Regions from separate parts of the Homo sapiens genome. Here region 2 is linked to region 1. Evidence: promoter capture Hi-C in human tissues and cell types (Jung and others, 2019). All regions are on one chromosome and are shown on one strand. Each heading gives the region's core, a stretch centred on a gene start or on the middle of the fragment in contact. The rest is flanking DNA. Distances are from core to core; before and after follow the strand shown. Region 1 holds the start of IFNA5 (interferon alpha 5). Region 2 has its middle 200 kb from the start of SLC24A2.

Region 1 (4,509 bases), core at 858-3,357:
CAGTTTCCCATTTTATTTCATGAGGGAAGTTTGTCATTTTTTCCTGACATGTAACATAGTATTAATCAAAATAATAATAAATTATTATGCAAATAATATTATGATTTAAATACATAAAATATTAAACATATTAACATGACTTGCCAATAGATTGAATCCACGAACTCTATTTTCAAAAAAGAAAAACTATGTAGATAAAAAATAGTACACATTCTTTTTCAAGTCCAACCTTATTTCCCCCCTCCATTTCCATGGCAAACATGTCACAATTATTTCCTACATATGGTTATCACTGATTTCTCTTCTCTGATTCACTCTTCCACCTACTCCAGTATGGTTTGTACTGATTAATTCTGCCAATCCAGCTCTCACCAAGATCTCCACCGCCATCTATTTTTCTGATGTTCTGGGCAGTTTTAATCCACATTTCCCATAAGTCTATTGATTCTTCTTCTAAGTACATTTATTTTCTAAATACATTTTTATCATCATTCCCTCTTGTCCTTCTAATGTTTAAGGTATTCCACCTCTGTTTCCTTTGTGTCTCTCCTCTTCCCTCTCTTTAATGGTGGAAGGTCCTCAGAATCTAGTTTAAGTCTTATTTTCTTCTCTACATTGGCTCCTCACATGACAGCCTCCATTTTTAGGCATTTGGTTGCCAGTTATGATCCTCCAGACATTGTATTCCTTGGATATTGCAAACTCATGTATCTGACTAGCAATGCACATTCGCAATTACATGTTTAAAAGTCAGTTTAGAGAGGCTAGCTCTGCTTTTATTTTTCTTTCTGGACGTGCCTCTATCTGCGTTCTGCTGAGAGCAATTCACTGTTTTTTTTCCTAGCTCACATTATAGCATTTAACATAACTCATATTAATCATAATTATTGTTGTTAAATTTCTGGCAAAAATCAAAGATACAAGGGAACAGGAATTGTATTTATTATGTTCACTTAAGAAAAATCTTCCTTTACTTAAAATTTGAATAAAATAATGATAGGTAACTGAACTGTACCATCTGTTTTTAATCAAGTTATACAATCAGGCTTGGAGTTTCATTTTAAAGAATAAACAAACAATTAATAGTAAAAATCTAATGAACAAAGCAAAATAATCAGTTGACAAAACATAAAGAACATATTTTATTATATTAGCCACAAAGTAAAGGTGGATGTAATATTACCTGAACAAACATAATTTAAAATAATTTAAATCTTATAAATAAATAAATATTTAAATAGATTAGATAGAAGACAGACAGATAGATAAATAGATAGAATAGATAGATTGGCATGATCATCTGTAAAGATTTTGTCCCTGTGGAGCTAAAGAAGTGTTGCTTAACACGTGTGAAACGTTTGAAAATTTTGATTCAACTCAAGTCATGGATATAGCAGAAATTAATATTTGAAACGGCAGAACTCAAGAAGTGTGAAATGGTGTACTAGTCAATGAGAATCATTTCGATGTTGAACCAGTTTTCATTCCTTCCTCCTTAATCTTTCTTGCAAGTTTGCTGATAAAGAGAAGGATCTCATGATTTCTGCTCTGACAACCTCCCATGCACAAGGGCTGTATTTCTTCTCTGTCAGATAGAGGGTGATTCTTTGAAAGTATTTTCTCACAGTCAGGATAGAGTCCACATTCATCAGAGGAGTGTCTTCCACTCCAACCTCCTGCATCATACAGGCTTCCAGGTCATTCAGCTGCTGGTAAAGTTCAGTGTAGAATTTGTCTAGAAGTGTCTCATCCCAAGTAGCAGATGAGTCCTTTGTGCTGAAGAGATTGAAGGTCTGCTGGATCATCTCATGGAGGACAGAGATGGCTTGAGCCTTCTGGAACTGGTTGCCATCAAACTCCTCCTGAGGAAATCCAAAGTCATGTCTGTCCTTCAGGCAGGAGAAAGGAGAGATTCTTCCCATTTGTGCCATTATCATCAAAGTCCTCCTGTTACTCAGGCTGTGGGTCTGAGGCAGATCACAGCCCAGAGAACAGATTGACTTGCAGTTGAGCACCACCAGGGCCATCAGTAAAACAAAGGGCAAGGCCATTGGGGAGGTTGCAGATGCTTCTGGGCTGTTGAGATTGAGTGACCCTGAACCTTGGGCTCTTCTCTGAAGACCTTGTTTTGTGCACAGATCTTAAAAAGGTCACATACGAGTTTCCATTTTCTGAATGCCTTGTGTTACTTTCTACTTCTCTTTTTGCTTTCTTTTATGCTCTTTCTACATAGATGTACAGGAGTGTTTCTCAGTTTATTTATTTTTACATTATTACCTCATCTTCCTCTGCCACATATGCTTTTTAGAAATTTTTTTTCTAACTAAAAATCCCATTAAATTTTAATAACACAGATATACTATGTGTTGGCTGATGTATATACATTACAGTACCCATTATCGAGAGAGAATATTGTACTTCTTTAATGCTTTAAAAGCAGCGTAATAGAATGTAAAATAGAATTTATTCAGTCCCGGATTAAGAATGAGCAAATGAAAATTCTAAGGTAAAAGTTAATAATTAAATTTACAATTTATGGATATTTAACTTCATAGTTCAATTTGTTTAAGTAACAATGTGATTTATTTACTTATATAAATTGTAGTGTGTCAGATTAAATAAGTAAATTAACAAATTATGAAAATATATAATATTGCCTAGTATAATGAAATATTTAAAAATTCAAAATAGCTAAAGACTATTAAAATTGAAATTATTTGTAACATTTATTTTTAGGGTACTTTCAATTTTGCTTCATAGGGAAATTTAAAAAATTCACTAGCTTCTAGATATTGATCTAGATATTGTCAAAAACCTTTTTCTCTTCAGTGCTTGACATAATTATTGATGTGTTGAACAACTTTAGTAGAATTAAATAGTAAAAGATAAAGTATTTTTATTGAAACCTCAAAACTCAAAACACAGTCATAAATGCTCAGGATCAAATATAAGCAACATACACAAGACAGCAAATGACAGCTCATATGTATACAGAGGCCACCTCACATGATATGACTTTGACATCTAATAAATCTTGGAAAGTCCTCCAATAACAGCCACCCATTTGCCATATGCTTGTAGCACTGATCTTGTATACCTTTTGTGTATCTTCCATGAACTCAAGGTCAATGCTTCTGATGTTACAAGAAAACCAAATTAGGCCAGGCGCGGTGGCTCACATCTGTAATCCCAGCACTTTGGGAGGCTGAGGTGGGTGGATTACAAGGTCAGGAGATCAAGACCCTCCTGGACAACATGGTGAAAGCCCGTCTCTACTAAAAATACAAAAATTAGCTGGGCGTGGTGGCACGTGCCTGTAATCCCAGCTACTCGGGAGGCTGAGGCAGGAGAATTGCTTGAACCAGGGAGTCGGAGGTTGCAGTGAGCCGAGACCACCCCACTGCACTCCAGCCTGGCAACAGAGCGAGACTCCGCCTCAAAAAGCAAGCAAACAAACAAACAACAACAACAAGAACTCAATTAAAAAAATACTAAGGAATAAAGTTTTGTCAGACAGAGTTGAACTTTAGAGGGCCCCAAGAAATAACTTTTACATTCTTGGAAGCAATATTATACTTAATGAGTATATGCAATGGAGAAAAATGTCATCAATTTGATTTTAAAAATATTATTTGTCATGAAAGGTCAGATTTCCAAAGAACCCACAGAGGTTCCAATTCTAGTTGATTCTCCTCAAACTGAAGAAAACCATTTTTGTCCTAAATGTCCATAGTGTAATGTAAATGTGATAGCATGAATGGGTTGTACAATTGTTTACATAGCATGCAGGATACCAGAGATCTTTCTTTCTCATTTTCATTTTCATTGAAAGTAAAGGTTGTCTCTTTTTGAATCCTTAAGAATGGAGACAAAAAGAAAAATGTATATCTAAATGTGATTTTAAAAATCCTACAGAATGGAGATAGAAAGAAAACAAATGTGTATCTAAATGTGATAAAAGAATCCTGATTCTTTTCTGGTCACTTGGGCTAGGAGATTCTAATCCTAAGTTAATTTGTTAGTTTTATTTTCCCCAGCACCATCTCACTCACAAGGCAGTTATCACAGTCAGTAACACCCTTTTCTCTAGAGTGACAATATCCTCTAGAGAGACAATATCTCACTGGGAAAAAAAGGATGACAAAATGCAACTTTCCTACATTCATCCCAGTAAAGAAGGAGATAAAGGAATGGGGAAGAGGAGAAGCAAAATCGTAGAAGATATGTAGATCAAAGGGAACAAATGGGTATGAGCTGAAAAAAAAGAGTAATCATTCCTGGTCCACGCAGTGTTTTCAGCTTTGCTGAATCCAGCCTTCATGGAGTCACACCAATCGCAAGAATTTGTACATAAAAAAAGGGCAATTTTTAAAAGAGTACCATGTACTCTTTGCATAATGAGTAAGTGTTAATTCTCAAGTTCTCCCTTAGTGTATAAATACATTCAAGAGATCAATATTTCCCTTATTATGTTTTTTACAGGAATCAAGGGAGTTAACAATTTTAAAG
Region 2 (4,509 bases), core at 699-3,198, 1.3 Mb before region 1:
AATCATAGAGACAGGTAAGTGCCTAGAATGTCAGAGAAAAGTTAGAATTTCCTGTGGCTAAAACATAGGTGGCTGGGAAAAGGCTGTGAAATGATGAGACTGGTGAGCTAGGGCTCAGTTCTTTAGAGTTATGTATAAGACTAAAAGAATGACTAAAATTATAAACATTTTCAATATTTTAGGTATTGTGTTAAGTGTTGTGCCTGCATTATCTCATTTAATCATCACCATAATCCTGTAAAATTTGTAACATAATTATGCCCATTTTATAGATGAGGAAACTGGGGCTTAGGAGGATTAAATCAGTGTCTTAGGGCCTATACAAAACTGTAGTAGTCTCCCCCTTATCCATGGTTTTGCTTTCCATGGTTTAGGTTACCCATGGTCACCTACGGTCAGAAGATATCAAATGAGGCTGGGCACGGTGGCTCGTACCTCTAATCCCTGCACTTTGGGAGGCCAAGGTGGGTGGATCACGAGGTCAAGAGTTCGAGACCATCCTGGCCAACATGGTGAAACCCCGTCTCTACTAAAATACAAAAAAATTAGCCGGGCATGGTGGCGGGCACCTGTAGTCCCAGCTACTTGGGAGGATGAGGCAGGGGAATCACTTGAACCTGGGAGGCAGAGGTTGCAGTGAGAAGAGATCACACCACTGCACTCCAGCCTGGCGACAGAGCAAGACTCCACCTAAAAAAACAAAAAAAAAAAAACAAAACAAAAAAAAAAAAGGAAAAGAAAAAGAAAATATCAAATGAAAAATTCCATAAACAATTCATATACCTTAAATTGCATGTCATTCTGAGTAGCATAATGAAATCTTATGCTGGCCCTCTCCATCCATCCTGCCCAGGACATAAGTCATCGCTTTATCCAGTGGATCCACGTTGAATATGCTACCTGCCTATTGTTACCTAGTAGCTGTCTTGGTTATCAAAAAAAAAAAAATAGTATCAATAGGGTTCCGTGCTGTATTAGGGTTCTCTAGAGGGACAGGACTAATAGGATATATATATATATGTATGTATATGTATGTATTATATATACTATATATGTATGTATATGTATGTATTATATATGTGTGTATACATATATACATACACACACACATATATACACACATACATACATACATACATACATACATACATATATGAAAAGGAGTTTATTAAGGAGTATTGACTCACAGGATCACAAGGTGAAGTCCCACAATAGGCCATCTGCAAGCTGAGGAGCAAGGAAGCCAGTCCAAGACCCAAAACCTCAAAAGTAAGGAAGCCGACAGTGCAGCCTTCAGTCTGTGGCTGAAGGCCCAAGAGCCCCTAGCAAGCCACTGGTGTAAGTCCAAGAGTCCAAAAGCTGAAGAACTTGGAGTCTGATGTTCGAGGGCAGGAAGCATCCAGCATGGGAGAAAGACAAAGGCCAGAAGACTCAGCCAGTCTAGTCCTTCCATGTTCTTCTGCCTGCTTTTATCCTAGCTGCTGATTAGATGGTGCCTACCCAGATTGAAGGTGGGTCTGCCTCTCCCAGTCCACTGATTCAAATGTTAATCTCCTTTGGCAACACCTCACAGACACACCCGGGAACAATACTTTGCATCCTTCAATCCAATCAAGTTGACAATATTAACCATCACAAATACTATCCATGGTTTCAGGAATTCTCTGGGTGCCTTGAAACATATCTACCATATATAAGGCAGGACTACTGTATTTGGTTCCAAATGCTATGCTTATAACTACCATCCTATACTGTCCTAAGAATTAGTCTGTGGTAATAATTTTCACTCATTGTATGGGCAATGGGGAGACAGGAGAGGTTTTAAGTGAAAAAGCAATATGATGAGATTTATTTTTCGGAAAATAAGTCAGTGGTTGATTATAGAGGAGAGAAACTGAAAGCAGGGAGAACAGTCTAGACATTCAAAATAGACATGAGCAAGACTTAAACTGAGTCTTGACAGTGGAGATGGAGAGGAGGGCAGAGACCCTAGAGACATTTCCCAGGTAAAAGCAACAGGACTTGGGGACTGGATGGATGAGGGAAAAGGAGAAGTAAAGTAAGTCACCCAAGTTTTTAGACTGCTGAATGAGTGAATGGTATGCTTCAACCATCTATGTTGGGGCAGCATGTCTTATTCTGTCCTCTAGGAAATAGAAATATTAATGTTATCACTTAAAAAGGGGCATGTTATCATACATGATTGGATTAAACAGCATTGTTTAATACAGGACTTGTCAACATCTTTAAAAGCTTTGTGTATTGAGAATCTCCAAGAGAACAACTCTGTATATACCGGGGGGATGTCCAATAGGCTTGGTCATATAGGTCTGAGGCTCAAGAGGAATACCTAGAGGTAGAGGTTTGGGGCTTATTTTCTTCAGCAGCAGATCTTTGATGACAGCATTTCTGTATTTTCCACCATGTCTGTTTGCTTGCTATGTGTTGCTTATTGAAGATATTTTTACAATTCTAAAACTGATGGCTATGCATCATGAGTTGAAAATGCAATGTGGATGAGAACTAAAATATATCTACCTCTGGGTGAAACCAAATCATTTTATATACAAACAATTTACCGTTCCATTCAAATTGGCTAGTCTTTGGAACCACTGAAATAAACTGTTCATTAACTGATTAAAAACATCTGAGATAAGATTTGATTAATTATTTTATGTGCTTCTGCAAGAATCTGGGGAATCTTGGACTTCACTGGAGCATAGGTTCAGATTAAATTCATCTCAGTTGACTGGGTACTTACTCATCTCATAGGAAAAAATCACTCATGCCACTGTTAGTAGCATCACATCAGTCCTCTGCACATTGGCAGAAATATGCTCCCAGCTGCACAAGTATGTGGTTTCTCTGATCATACAGTAAATGTACTTGTGACCTTAAATAACCCACAAGGGTGTGAATGTCAGAGCTGGGAATCCCTTCCTGGGAACCGCAGGACAATCTGTCGACCTATCATTTTTCATCAGTGTGGGGTAGATTAACTCTTGCTATCAAAGTCCTACCAAAACATCTAGTGCCACCATGGCTCAGTCAGTGGTAGCCAACAAACTAATGTCAGCCTTATTTTTTTCATTCTTATTCTACTCAAACCTTAACCCATAGAGAGAAGTGCTCTGTACGCTTTATAGATATTAACCTTCAACCCCATAAGGTAGCATCATAATTGACCCTATTTAGTAAATGAGGGAGATGAGGTACAGAAAGATGAATGCAGTTGCCCAAGATCACAGAGCCTCACATAGCAGAATGATTCTTTCCATCCACAGGGCATCTGAAAATGGATCATATTATAATACTTCCAGCAGAATTTCCCGAGCTTCGTTCACATACTGCATATCCACATGCTAGCTTTAATAGTATTTATTTACTGTATTTAAAAAATCAATACACTTTAAAAACTTTAGCTTTTGTCCAAAGAATAGAATATATAAACTCACAGCATTGATGTGGCAGTTAAATCTTTCCTCTAAACCACAAGAAAATGGGCTCATGGCTATTTTAAATTTTTGTCTTTCCTAAAATTTATTTTATAACCATCTATGGATGCTCACTTTTCCTCTGAGCAGCTTACACCATAAACTAGAAAGTTATTCATTCCGAACATTAAATATGTGCAGTCATTCAACACGGTTAACATTTATAGAGTACCTGCTACTATGTTCAGGGCAGCGTGCCACATTAATTCTTCATTCCACATCTCCTCCTCCGTGAAGCTAAACCTGATAAGCAGAGCCCACACAGAGTTCTACCCCATCTTGGTCTGAGAGTGTGCAGGAGATAATTGAGCATTTCGTGGTCCTGTTCTATTCCCTAACTATGTCTTCTCTCCCAGGAAAATGTTAGTCCCTCGAGAATATTACCATTAAATCTCCCATTACCACTAGTAACAGAGCCTTGAACTTCATGCTAGTGATTGAAAACACAATCATTAATGCCCATGGTGAAAACAGTCAGATCTAAAAACAGGAAGAGAAGGAGAAACACCCAGTTATTGAGACCCCACTATTGCTGAGCATCCTTCCATCATTATCTTACTCGTTTGTAATTAATCTTCACAGCAGCCGTGTGTACTAGGAAACTGAGGTAAAGATAGACCAAGTAGATTGCAGAAGTTCACATAGCTGGCAGGTGGCAGAGCTGGGATTAGAATGGTGATCTGCCTGGCTCCAGGTGAGCTGCTGTTTCCATTGCAACAGGCTGCTGCACCTGCTTCTAGTGGAAAAGAACACATTAAATGGAGTGATGACAATCTCCTTCGTCAGGGAAAGACACTGCAAAGTCTCATTATCTCAGCTGTCCTCTGCTGCCAATTGCTAAATTTTAAGGCAATAACAAACTGTGACCATTGGCAAAAAACAAAAACAAAACAAAAAAAACAAACTATGGAAAGACAGCCTTAGCATGAATAACCAGGGTAATTACCCATGCACACAATAAATTCTGTGGGCAAGAGTCCTGACCAAGCTCTCACCCTCCTTTCTGAGTCATACA

The links. The method cuts DNA at HindIII sites, captures the fragments that hold promoters and counts their contacts. A contact is called where the count stands out against the background at its distance.
Region 2: a fragment that was not itself captured here is called in contact with the fragment with the promoter of IFNA5 in region 1 in 1 of the 25 tissues and cell types used here (lymphoblastoid cells).

Annotation. Positions count from the first base shown.
Region 1 is chr9:21,303,206-21,307,714 of GRCh38, forward strand. IFNA5 (interferon alpha 5) reads right to left here and starts at 2,108. Exons shown (of 1, transcript NM_002169.3): 1 at 1,121-2,108. The coding sequence starts at 2,051. The coding sequence ends at 1,482. The region is part of intron 2 of LOC107987053 (a long non-coding RNA gene); the gene reads left to right. The HindIII fragment of the contact is 6,884 bases long and covers 1-4,509 here.
Region 2 is chr9:19,989,917-19,994,425 of GRCh38, forward strand. It overlaps a transcript of SLC24A2 not described here. Among named protein-coding and RNA genes, the nearest start is that of SLC24A2, 200 kb to the left of the region's middle. The HindIII fragment of the contact is 5,775 bases long and covers 1-4,509 here.